Linked DNA regions of Homo sapiens: region 1 is linked to region 2. The links are contacts of gene promoters, found by promoter capture Hi-C in blood cells and fetal thymus (Javierre and others, 2016). All regions are on one chromosome and are shown on one strand. Each heading gives the region's core, a stretch centred on a gene start or on the middle of the fragment in contact. The rest is flanking DNA. Distances are from core to core; before and after follow the strand shown. Region 1 has its middle 75 kb from the start of OR13A1. Region 2 holds the start of ALOX5 (arachidonate 5-lipoxygenase).

What was found. The method cuts DNA at HindIII sites, captures the fragments that hold promoters and counts their contacts. A CHiCAGO score of 5 or more calls a contact.
Region 1: a fragment that was not itself captured here is called in contact with the fragment with the promoter of ALOX5 in region 2 in 1 of 17 cell types (neutrophils); the score reaches 7.3 in neutrophils.

The regions. Positions count from the first base shown.
Region 1 is chr10:45,238,160-45,243,293 of GRCh38, forward strand. It overlaps the pseudogene CUBNP2. Among named protein-coding and RNA genes, the nearest start is that of OR13A1, 75 kb to the right of the region's middle. The HindIII fragment of the contact is 2,299 bases long and covers 315-2,613 here.
Region 2 is chr10:45,371,650-45,376,626 of GRCh38, forward strand. ALOX5 (arachidonate 5-lipoxygenase) reads left to right here and starts at 2,567. Exons shown (of 14, transcript NM_000698.5): 1 at 2,567-2,780. The coding sequence starts at 2,631. RefSeq lists enhancers at 2,335-2,945, 2,946-3,554. The HindIII fragment of the contact is 7,754 bases long and covers 1-4,977 here.

The DNA of each region.
Region 1 (5,134 bases), core at 214-2,713, 130 kb before region 2:
GACACCTTATGTTTTACTCACCTACACTGCTTTCCCGTACAAAGTACAAATGTCTTACCAGAGGGTGATGAGGTCCAGATGATTTCATATCCACGATCCGAAATTACACTATTACTCTTAAATCATAGGTATAGTTCATTATTTTGAGAGAAGACAGGGTTTGGCAGCAGAGTACTTGCCAAGTAATGGTGAATTGCTGTTACTTCCATTTCTCACCTTTAGGAAGGAGTCATTCATTATTAAACTTACACTTTCTTCTCCAATGTATATACATTACACTGTGAGACAATTTGAATGATGACACTTTTTGGAAAAGCTTTGTCTTTTTATATACATAAGAATGAAGGGTTTTCTGAAAATACATGCAGAAGTCATCTTCACTTGCAAAGGGGAAAAATGTTCCATGTGTAGATCAAAAAACATTTGTATTTGGATTCAGAAATATCTGTTAACCTGTAGCAATTAAAACATCAGGCTGCTTTTTTATATAATAGTTTTTGCTATGATCCTGCAGCCTTTGCTTTTGGGGAAACATTTGGAAGAATGTAGGTAAAGTGAATTTTTAAAGGGTGGGGATGGGTGGGGGCAATGTTGCCTGCCCTGTTTCCAGTCAACTATTATACATTTTTCATAGTGTGTGTGTGTGTGTGTATGAGTGCGCGCGCACACGGGTTTCCCATTGAAAATTACTTGGCTGTAAAGGGGCTACGAAGAAAATACAATGCAAAGTATAATAAAGTTCAGAACAAAAGGAATTTCTGTATGGGTGAAGGACAGAATTATAAATCTATACAACTTCTGACTGTTGTTAAACGTGTTTTAAAAACACATTCCGAGGCCTTGTTGCTTTTTTGTTTCAACTCCTCATTTTTGAATAGACACATATAAAAACAGGAAATGAGTTGGTGTTTTGAGGGAAGAGAGAACCACACTGTGAATTCAACCATTTTCTGTCCCCCAGCCTGGCTCCTACCCTGCATTCACAACTAGACCTGCTTCCAGGAGGGCTCTCGACGCTTCTAAAGGAAACGTTACACAGGCAATGTATGTTGGAACCAGCCTGACATGTAGAAATGCTGATTTTACTGATCCATGTATTCAAAACACTGGAAGTTCCTCTCTTCCCTTTGTAATTCCATGATTTAAAATTTGGTTAATTGCTGGTATCTTAAGTCACAGAGTTAAGACAGTCTAATCTTGCTGGGCTGTGTTGATCAGGTGAGATTCCTTTTAGGTCTATGTAGTAGCCCATGGGAGAGACTAATGCCTTTCTAGTGCTTCAGGGATTATTCTGCTAAGTGTTTAAATAAAGTAGACTTGCCATGACAGAGTAGCCAGTTATCCACTAGTAGATAGGAGGGCTGCCATATTTAAGACCTTCCAGCACCATACCCTTGAGTTTGGGTGTTTTCACCCAGGGGTCCTCTTTTAAAATGGCGTTGCTCTGAGAGGAGCAGTGAGATACTAATTTTCACGGACACTGCCAACAACTTGTCTTATTCACTTTCGTCTCCTAGGAGGAATGGGGCCACCGAGAGCAGCGGGCATCCCTGCGACATCAGAGGATCCTGGAAGGGGAGGTGAAGGCATGAAAACAATCGCAGATTCCAGGCATGGTCTAGAGCTCGGCCCTCACTTGGTAGTAACACAGAATCCTCAGTCAGACATTTCTGTTCCTACGGCAGTTCACAAGAATGGAATGCTGAGGCTTCCTGGTCCAGCTGCCAATAAACTATGCCCACAGTCTTCCCACCGAGAGCCAGACGGAGCTACATTTTACAGGCCTAAGCTGTGGTTTCCTTTCTTTGCTTATGGGACAGGAAGTTTCAGATCCATTCTACGGAGTAATGAAGGACAGCGAGGAGGAAGAGTTCTTACTGTCCATGGCTGGAAAGCAAGGCTTTGCTTCCCAGCATCTATCAGGCAAATGGCAAATGTTGACTCTGATCAATAATGGTCCATTCAAGCTGGAGTGAGTTAAGAGTTAGTTGCACTGTGACTCCAACCTAACGGGATTATTCCATCTTTCATCCAGATCCCACTCTCCTCATTCTTTCTGCTTTACACTTCATATAAATATATGGATCTCCGTGGTGGGGGAGGTACGTAGGTCCAAGTTGAGTAACCTGACCGGCACAAAGAATACTGTATTTGTCTCTTCGTTTCCTCCCTGCTACATACATCTTTTGGTTTCCTGTCATGGGAATATTCCTTTAGAAAAGGCATGAGCTTCCTCTGAGTGTTATTTATGAAACTACATGTTAAGGCTATTGATTAATAAAGGATTTAGATGAATTCCAAAGGGGAGAGCTTTCCAGGATGATAAAACTGCATCAAGAATCATGTTGAAGCTAAACCCATAGGCAAAGACCATGTGCCAGAACACCCTTCCTCACCAGGCCGGGCAGAAGGTGACAGCAGCCCTAGAAGCCAAATCAGATGAGGTGGGTTGCAGGTGAGAAAAGATGTTTTGTTGGGAACAAAGGCTGCAGCTACCAAGAAACTAGCAGCTGAACAGAAGCCCACTGGAAAGAATCCTCCCACAGAAGGAAAGAAGCCTGCTGCATACACCAGTACATTTGTTTATGCTACAAAGATCAAATCATCTTGGGAAGCTTATTTTGAATGAAGACCTGATCAAAGAGGCAGTGAGAAAAAAAAATAAAACAAAAAATACGACTCCAGATCAGGTGTAGAGGAACAAGCAAACTTTTTGGAAACCTTACTGAAGCCTCTTGTATGGTGAAACAAAGCCAGTTTAGAGAGCATCGGGATGAGGTTTAGATTTAAATTCCACTCTCAGAGGAATTCAGCATCCTTATCCTTTTGAGTCTCAGGTTCCACCTGAGTTTATTTCCTAAGGATGAATGCATTTTCAACAGAGCTTGCAAAGGTCACAACCGCATGAGCTCTGGGGGGTTTTCTGGCAAAACACAGGTGCTGAGTTCCACACACTGGGTCCGCATCAGATGAGTCTTATTCAGACCGTTTCCTGCCTATGAGCAATGATATTCATGTTCCATCTCACATGCTCAATGCAGGTGATGTGGCAGAAAGAGCACAGAGGGAGCTCACCAGGGGCTCTGGAAGACCCCAAAGGTTCAGGCCCACAAGGGGCATGGCTCTGCCTGCTCCAGGTGCAAGGGGGGCTTCTCTCTCAGTGTGTCCTGGGGTGGGAGTTGGGGGTGAATGGGTGGAGAATGGGCAAACAGCAAAGTCACTTCTGTGTCCAAATGAGAGCTCTGGAGTTGTGGTGGAAAAAGGACAGACCACACTTCCTGCAACAAGGGAGCACTTTTTCAAGGCAACACTTGTCTTTAGAGGATGTTGACGATGCCCCAAACTTACTGTAGCTGTCAGGGAAATTAGGTGAGCTATTTAGTATCATTCAGTTTCATTTTACAGAATCAGCTTGTTGTTCTTAGACTTTCCTCTGATCCTTTTAGGTCTCAACTTACATATTGCCCTCTTAAAGAAGCTTTCTAGTTCCCAGACTGAGTTAGGAACCCCTACCCCTGCTGGACTCAGTTAGTCCTTTCCACATTGTGCTGTAATTGGCTATACCCCATCTGTCCTTTCCACCAGACTAGGAGTCTTCCGAGGGCCCTGAGGTTCCCAATTTCCGGTGTTTGGACTGGTGCTCTGTAAATGTTTAGGGAATGAAAGGGTAATGAATAAATTAATGAAACAAGTAAGAATCATAGAGCATTAGAAGCACTAAAGAAAAGGTGTAAAATCCATCATCATTTAAATGATATTCAAATGCATATTACCTCCAAGAAATCGTTTCTGCATTCAATTGAGTTCTCAATGCCAAACAAATGAAAAAAGAGGGTGTGGTTGTGGGGGGCTGTGAGAGTAATGGTGCAATCCATGTCACTGTCGTAGTTATCTGGCCATCCAGTACTCCTCAGGTTGCCAAATGCCTTGTGATAGTCTCTGTTGCAATCTTAGGAGAAAAATATGCATAATTAATGTATGCATTCCAGCGTTCAGTGCTCTTTCAACTTCGCAGGAATAATTCAAAAAGATCATTATATGTGAACAAACTTTAGAAAAAGGTAATCCAGCTTCTTCGTTTACCTTTGAGATAATTGAGACCCTGAGCAGTGAAGTGAATTTCAAGCAGCACACACACATGCAATGCAGCAGCTCATTCACACAAACACCCCTACAGGAAGCATGACACAGGAGCCTTCTCCTTTAAAGACGAATACTCGAGGATCCTTTGAACTTTTCTGATCACATTGAGGTGAAGTGGCTAGCATTCAGACTCTCTTTTAGACAAGGACACTACCTCCAAGACAGAGTTTTGCGCAAGGATTTTAAATCCATTTGTGAGTTATTTGTGGGAAATCGTTCTTTACCTTTTTTTTTGTAAAAAAAATCTAAAGTACTTTTGTTTGTTTAACCAAAGGCAGCTTTCATTTGAATCAATTCAAAATAAATATCAAATAAAGTGTTCTGTGAAAATAAACTTCTCAGTGATAGTAATCAGGTAACTCTTTTAAGGCTTTTTGATTTTTACAAAAATAATTTTCTAAGATTTTCAACCTTGTGAAAATACTAAAAACCTCTGAAATATAAACATTAAATGGGTAAATTGTATGACATGAGGATTATATTTTGATAAAGCTCTTGTAAATATATATATATTTCTCATAAATAAATATGTATATTCAGTGTGGTTAAGTGCGTAAATTAACAAAATAACTGGTATATTTTTAAAATCAACTACATAGACGTTGAAGAAAATGCTAGCATTCTAAGCATCTTGGTTAGTATTGTATTCTCTTTACCTCTTTAGAAACCAACTTTAGTAATTTGCTAAATTGGGCCTGGGTTCTAGTTAAGAGATGGGTGTGGTTTTTGTTAACAAATCTTAATTTACTAACGGGAGTCAATTCTAGAAATAATTGTAATTATTCTAGGAATAATTGTAATGATGGCAGCTTTTCTTAATAAAAGATGAAGTTCTGGGGCTCACCTGCTATCTGATAGGTGAAATTCATTCTAGAATTTCTGTTTAAAACTCCAGATTTGAAAATGACAATTGCAGTACTCATAGAAGAATAAAACACCGGCATAGCCAAAGCATTTCTGCCACAGAACTGAATTCTTGAATTTCCATGAC
Region 2 (4,977 bases), core at 1,317-3,816:
AAAAACACTTTAAAACAAAAGAAATAAAAGGGAACTCCCTCAACCTGATAAATGGCATCTGTGGAAACCCCCAGCTAGCATCAAACTTAATACAGAAAGGCTGGGTGTTCACCTCTTGAACCAGGAACAAGACAAAGATGCCTGCTTTTGCCACTTCCATTTGACCTTGTACTGAGGTTCTGGCTAGGGCAATTATCCCTGAAAAAGAAATAAAAGGCTTCCAAATAAAAGAAGAAGTAAAACTATCTCTACTCGCTCATGACATGATCTTGCATATAGAAAATGTGCACATGTACACACACACAAACCATTAGAACTAATAAACAAGTTCAGCAAGTTTGCAGAATATAAAATGAATGTACAAAAATCAAGTGTTTTTCTATATACTAGCAATTAACAATCTCAAAATGAATTAAAATTCCATTTACAATAGTATCAAACATAAATTATTTAGAAATAAAAAGTGCACTGAAAACTACAAAATATTTTGAAATAAATCAGAAAAGATTTAAGTAAATGGATCACTTGAACCTGGGAAGCAGAGGTTGCAGTGTGCCGAGATTGTACCACTGCACTTTAGCCTGGGCAACAGAGGGAGACTCCAAAGAGTCGAAAAGAAAAGAAAAGATTTAAATAAGCTGAAACATATTCTATGGATCAGAAGACTTAATATTGTTAAAGTGACAATATTCCCCAAATTGATCTACAGCTTCAACTCAACCCCTATCAAAATCCTAGCTTGCTTTTTGGCTGAAATTGACAAGCTGATTCTATAATTTATATGGAATCTCAAAGGATCCAGAATAACCAAAACAATATTGAAAAATAAAGAACAGCGTTGGTGGATTAACATTTTCCAATTTCAAAACTTACTATAGCACTGCGGTAATCAAGCAGTGTGGCACTGTATAGCATGTACATTACAGATCAGTGGACTAGAATCAATGTCCAGAAATAAACCGTTATGTTTATAATGAATTACTTTTTAATAAGGTGTCAAGACAACGCAATGGGAAAAGAATAATGAATTCAACAAATGATGCATGGACAACCGGACATGCACATGCAACACAATGAATTTGAATTCTTCTATCGCTCCATGCATAAAAACTAACTCAAAATGGGTCACGGATGTAAATGAAAAGCTAAAACTATAATAATCCTAGAGGAAAACCTAGGAGTAAATCTTTAAGATGTTATTGTAGGCAGTGGTTTCTCAGATAGGACCCCAAAATCACAAGCGACAAAAGAAATTGGACTTAAAGTTAAATACTTTTGTGCTTCAAACATCATCAAGAAAGTGAAAACACAACCCGCAGAAGCAATAAAAATGTCTGTAAGTCATGTATCCGATTAGAGACTTCTATCCAGGATATATAAATAATGCAATTCAATGATAAAAAAGATAAATAGCCCAGTTTTCCAAAGAGTCAAGCATCTGAATATACATCTCTCCAAAAATATACAGATATCCAACAAGCATGTGAAAAGATGTTCAAAGCCATTTGCCAGGTGCACAAACCCAAGACAGTATGAGGAGATGCTACAGGGACTCTGCTGCTTCACAGACATGAAGCGTTGGTGAGAATGTAGGCAGCCGCCTTTGGGGACTTCACATCCCCGCCGCCCCACGCACGGTGAGCTAGTGTTTAAACTTAGCCGAGATCAATACACGCGACTGTGTGCCCGTCAGACCCTGCGCTGCCGGCGGGGCTGGGAGAGGCGGGCGCCAGGAGTGGGCGGGAACCTGGGGGTCAGGCCCCAGCCGCGGGAAGCCGCCCAGGAGCGCGCGAAACCTTCTCCACACCCTTCCAGGCATTTGCCCGCCGCGATTCAGAGAGCCGACCCGTGACCCCTGGCCTCCCCTAGACAGCCCCGCATGTCCAGATGTGCCGTCCCGCCTGCCTCCCGCGACCACTGGCCATCTCTGGGCCTGGGCGCGGTCTCGGCGCCCGCCTGCCCCCGCCAGGAGCCGCAGGTCCAGCCAGTGAAGAAGCCCGCGCTGAAGGAGCCTCTGTGCTCCAGAATCCATCCTCAGTATCAGCGCTGGGGTGGCCTCCTCCAGGAAGCCCTTCTGATTCTCTCATGGGTCGCTCTTCCTCTGCAGACTCCCGGAGCACCCCTGCTCCAAGTACCGCAAGTGGCACTGAGAACTTGGGGAGAGCAGAGGCTGTGCCTAGATTTGTAGGGAGTCCCCGCAGCTCCACCCCAGGGCCTACAGGAGCCTGGCCTTGGGCGAAGCCGAGGCAGGCAGGCAGGGCAAAGGGTGGAAGCAATTCAGGAGAGAACGAGTGAACGAATGGATGAGGGGTGGCAGCCGAGGTTGCCCCAGTCCCCTGGCTGCAGGAACAGACACCTCGCTGAGGAGAGACCCAGGAGCGAGGCCCCTGCCCCGCCCGAGGCGAGGTCCCGCCCAGTCGGCGCCGCGTGAAGAGTGGGAGAGAAGTACTGCGGGGGCGGGGGCGGGGGCGGGGGCGGGGGCGGGGGCAGCCGGGAGCCTGGAGCCAGACCGGGGCGGGGCCGGGACCGGGGCCAGGGACCAGTGGTGGGAGGAGGCTGCGGCGCTAGATGCGGACACCTGGACCGCCGCGCCGAGGCTCCCGGCGCTCGCTGCTCCCGCGGCCCGCGCCATGCCCTCCTACACGGTCACCGTGGCCACTGGCAGCCAGTGGTTCGCCGGCACTGACGACTACATCTACCTCAGCCTCGTGGGCTCGGCGGGCTGCAGCGAGAAGCACCTGCTGGACAAGCCCTTCTACAACGACTTCGAGCGTGGCGCGGTGAGCGCGGGCGGGGCACGGGTGGAGCGCGGGCTGAGGTGCGTCCGGGACCCGGTTTGGACGGCAGAGGCCTGGGCGGGGGCGCCGAGGGCCCGTCGGGGCGGCCCGGACAGGACTGGGGGTGTCCAGGACCCTGTCAGGGAGGGCAGAACTGCGGTGGGGCGTGCCCTGGGCTCCCAGTGGCCGGTGGGTACCCTGGTGGGCAAGCGTCCAGGACCCCTCGCGGCGGCCGCGACCCCTGTCGGAAACGGAGACTTCCCGCGTGCCGCCTGCAAGGCGTCTTCCCTGGGAGGAGAAGGCCCAAGGTTTCCCCTCCACTTCAAGATCTGGGCTCCGAGGCTCCGGAGCCCCCTTCACTGGGCCGCGTTTCTTGTGCCACCTCTTCCTTAGGCTCCTTCTGCAGGTCGCACAGGGAGGGAGAGGCAGATGAGTCATGCTCACAGAACTCTGAGGGCACCTCGGAGCAGCCAGCTGTGAGCCGTGGGGAAGGGTGCACGTCAGCGGGTCCAGAGGCCTGAGTTCTGTCCAGACATGACCACCAGCTCACTCTACCGTCTGTCTGGGCCTCAGTTTCCCCAGCTGAAAATGGAGGGTTGGCTTCAGTCTGGTCCATGAGTCATGGGTGAGCCCAGGCCCATCTGGTGGCTCAGACGGCACCTGGGCAGCTTACATTCTCAGGACAGTCCCCAGAGGAAATTAAAGGGAAGGAACAGAACCCAGGCCAGGAGAGGCTTTTCCTAAATGGAGGGGCTGCACTCCCTCCCAGCAGAATGTACACCAGGGAACACTTCCACGCTAGGTGTGAGGACGCGAGGGAGCCCTCAGCATTTGGAAGCTAGTTCCTAATGCTGATCTGGACCTGAATTCCAGCCCCACGACTCTTTTCCATGAGCATGGGCAGGTCGCAGTTCTCACTGAGCCTTTAATGAAGTGCCTAATCCAGTACCTGGCACAGAGGAAGCGCTCCGTAAATGACTGGTAATAGTCCCAGACATACTGCAGGTGCGCAGGGAATATCAGTTCCCTTCCACCCCACCCCAGCTCCTAACTGGACCAAAAAGATTTAGACTTTACCAAGCTGCCTTCTCACCATTTAGTTTATTATTTGATCAAACCTTGTGAAATTGCTCATAATGGACAAATACAACCGGCAAGTTCATGTTTCAACTGATTACTCTTGGATAAAATTTGTGTTTTAGGTGTGCAGAGCCTAAAGTAAGTAAAAACTACTCTTTTTCTGGATTCCAAGCTCTCCATGGGCTCGATTCCTATCCAGGAGCCCATACCCTCGCTGTAGCACGACATGGCCCTCAGCCAAGTTCACTAGCATCCTGGCTTGAGCTCCCTTCAAGAAGAGTTAGGTGTTGAGTACAAGAGCAACCTTCAGTTGCTTAGTTGCCCCAGTCGGGGAACTGACCCTGAGGACTGCGGTGCCCTGGAGTTAATGTGTCGTCCATTTAGGGTGATGGCACCCTCTGCCATTTCTGACGCACCTTCATTTACTTCCATTATTTCATGGATTCCCCACACCTGGGGGAGAAGGACAGGGTACAGGCTACTTCCCCTTTGTAAGTGCTTCCTCCTCCCCATTCTCCTCCACACATCATAAGGTTCTAGAAGCACAGGCCATTGGTGTGCTCACACTGCACAGCACGGGCACCCCGTGTGTGCTTTCCTCCTGCAGGGGACATGATAACGTGGCCATAGCGGGCTCTTCGGACAAAGAGTGAAGGCACTGTTTTGTCCACTATCTCCCTCTCTCGGTCTGTCTTCCCCTACCCTGAGAAGTCATTCAAATGACATTATAATTAAACACCTCAGCCGGAATCCCAGGGGCAAATTTCAGGAGAGATTTGCATGTCACATTTCCATTGGGTTGAGAGGGCTATAAGTCAGGGGTGGGGCGGGGGGTGGTTGGGGGTGGGGGCTACCGCAGGGTGGGGAACCAGCTAAGGCTGAAAGTTTCCTTGAAAAAATCAGCTTTTGAGAAAGTTCCTGTTGATGCAAAGTTACTCAACACTTTCTCTTGCCCAGCCCAGAACTACTTCCTCATTCTCCCAGCTTGGTATCTGTAAAGACAATCATCCTTTTTGGGTAAAGGTAAAAGAGAAACCCTAGAGGAAGTACTTGCTGAGAAGACAAGGTTATCCCATTTTACAGGGAAAAGTGTTAAAATCTGTATTGTTAACAGTAGTAA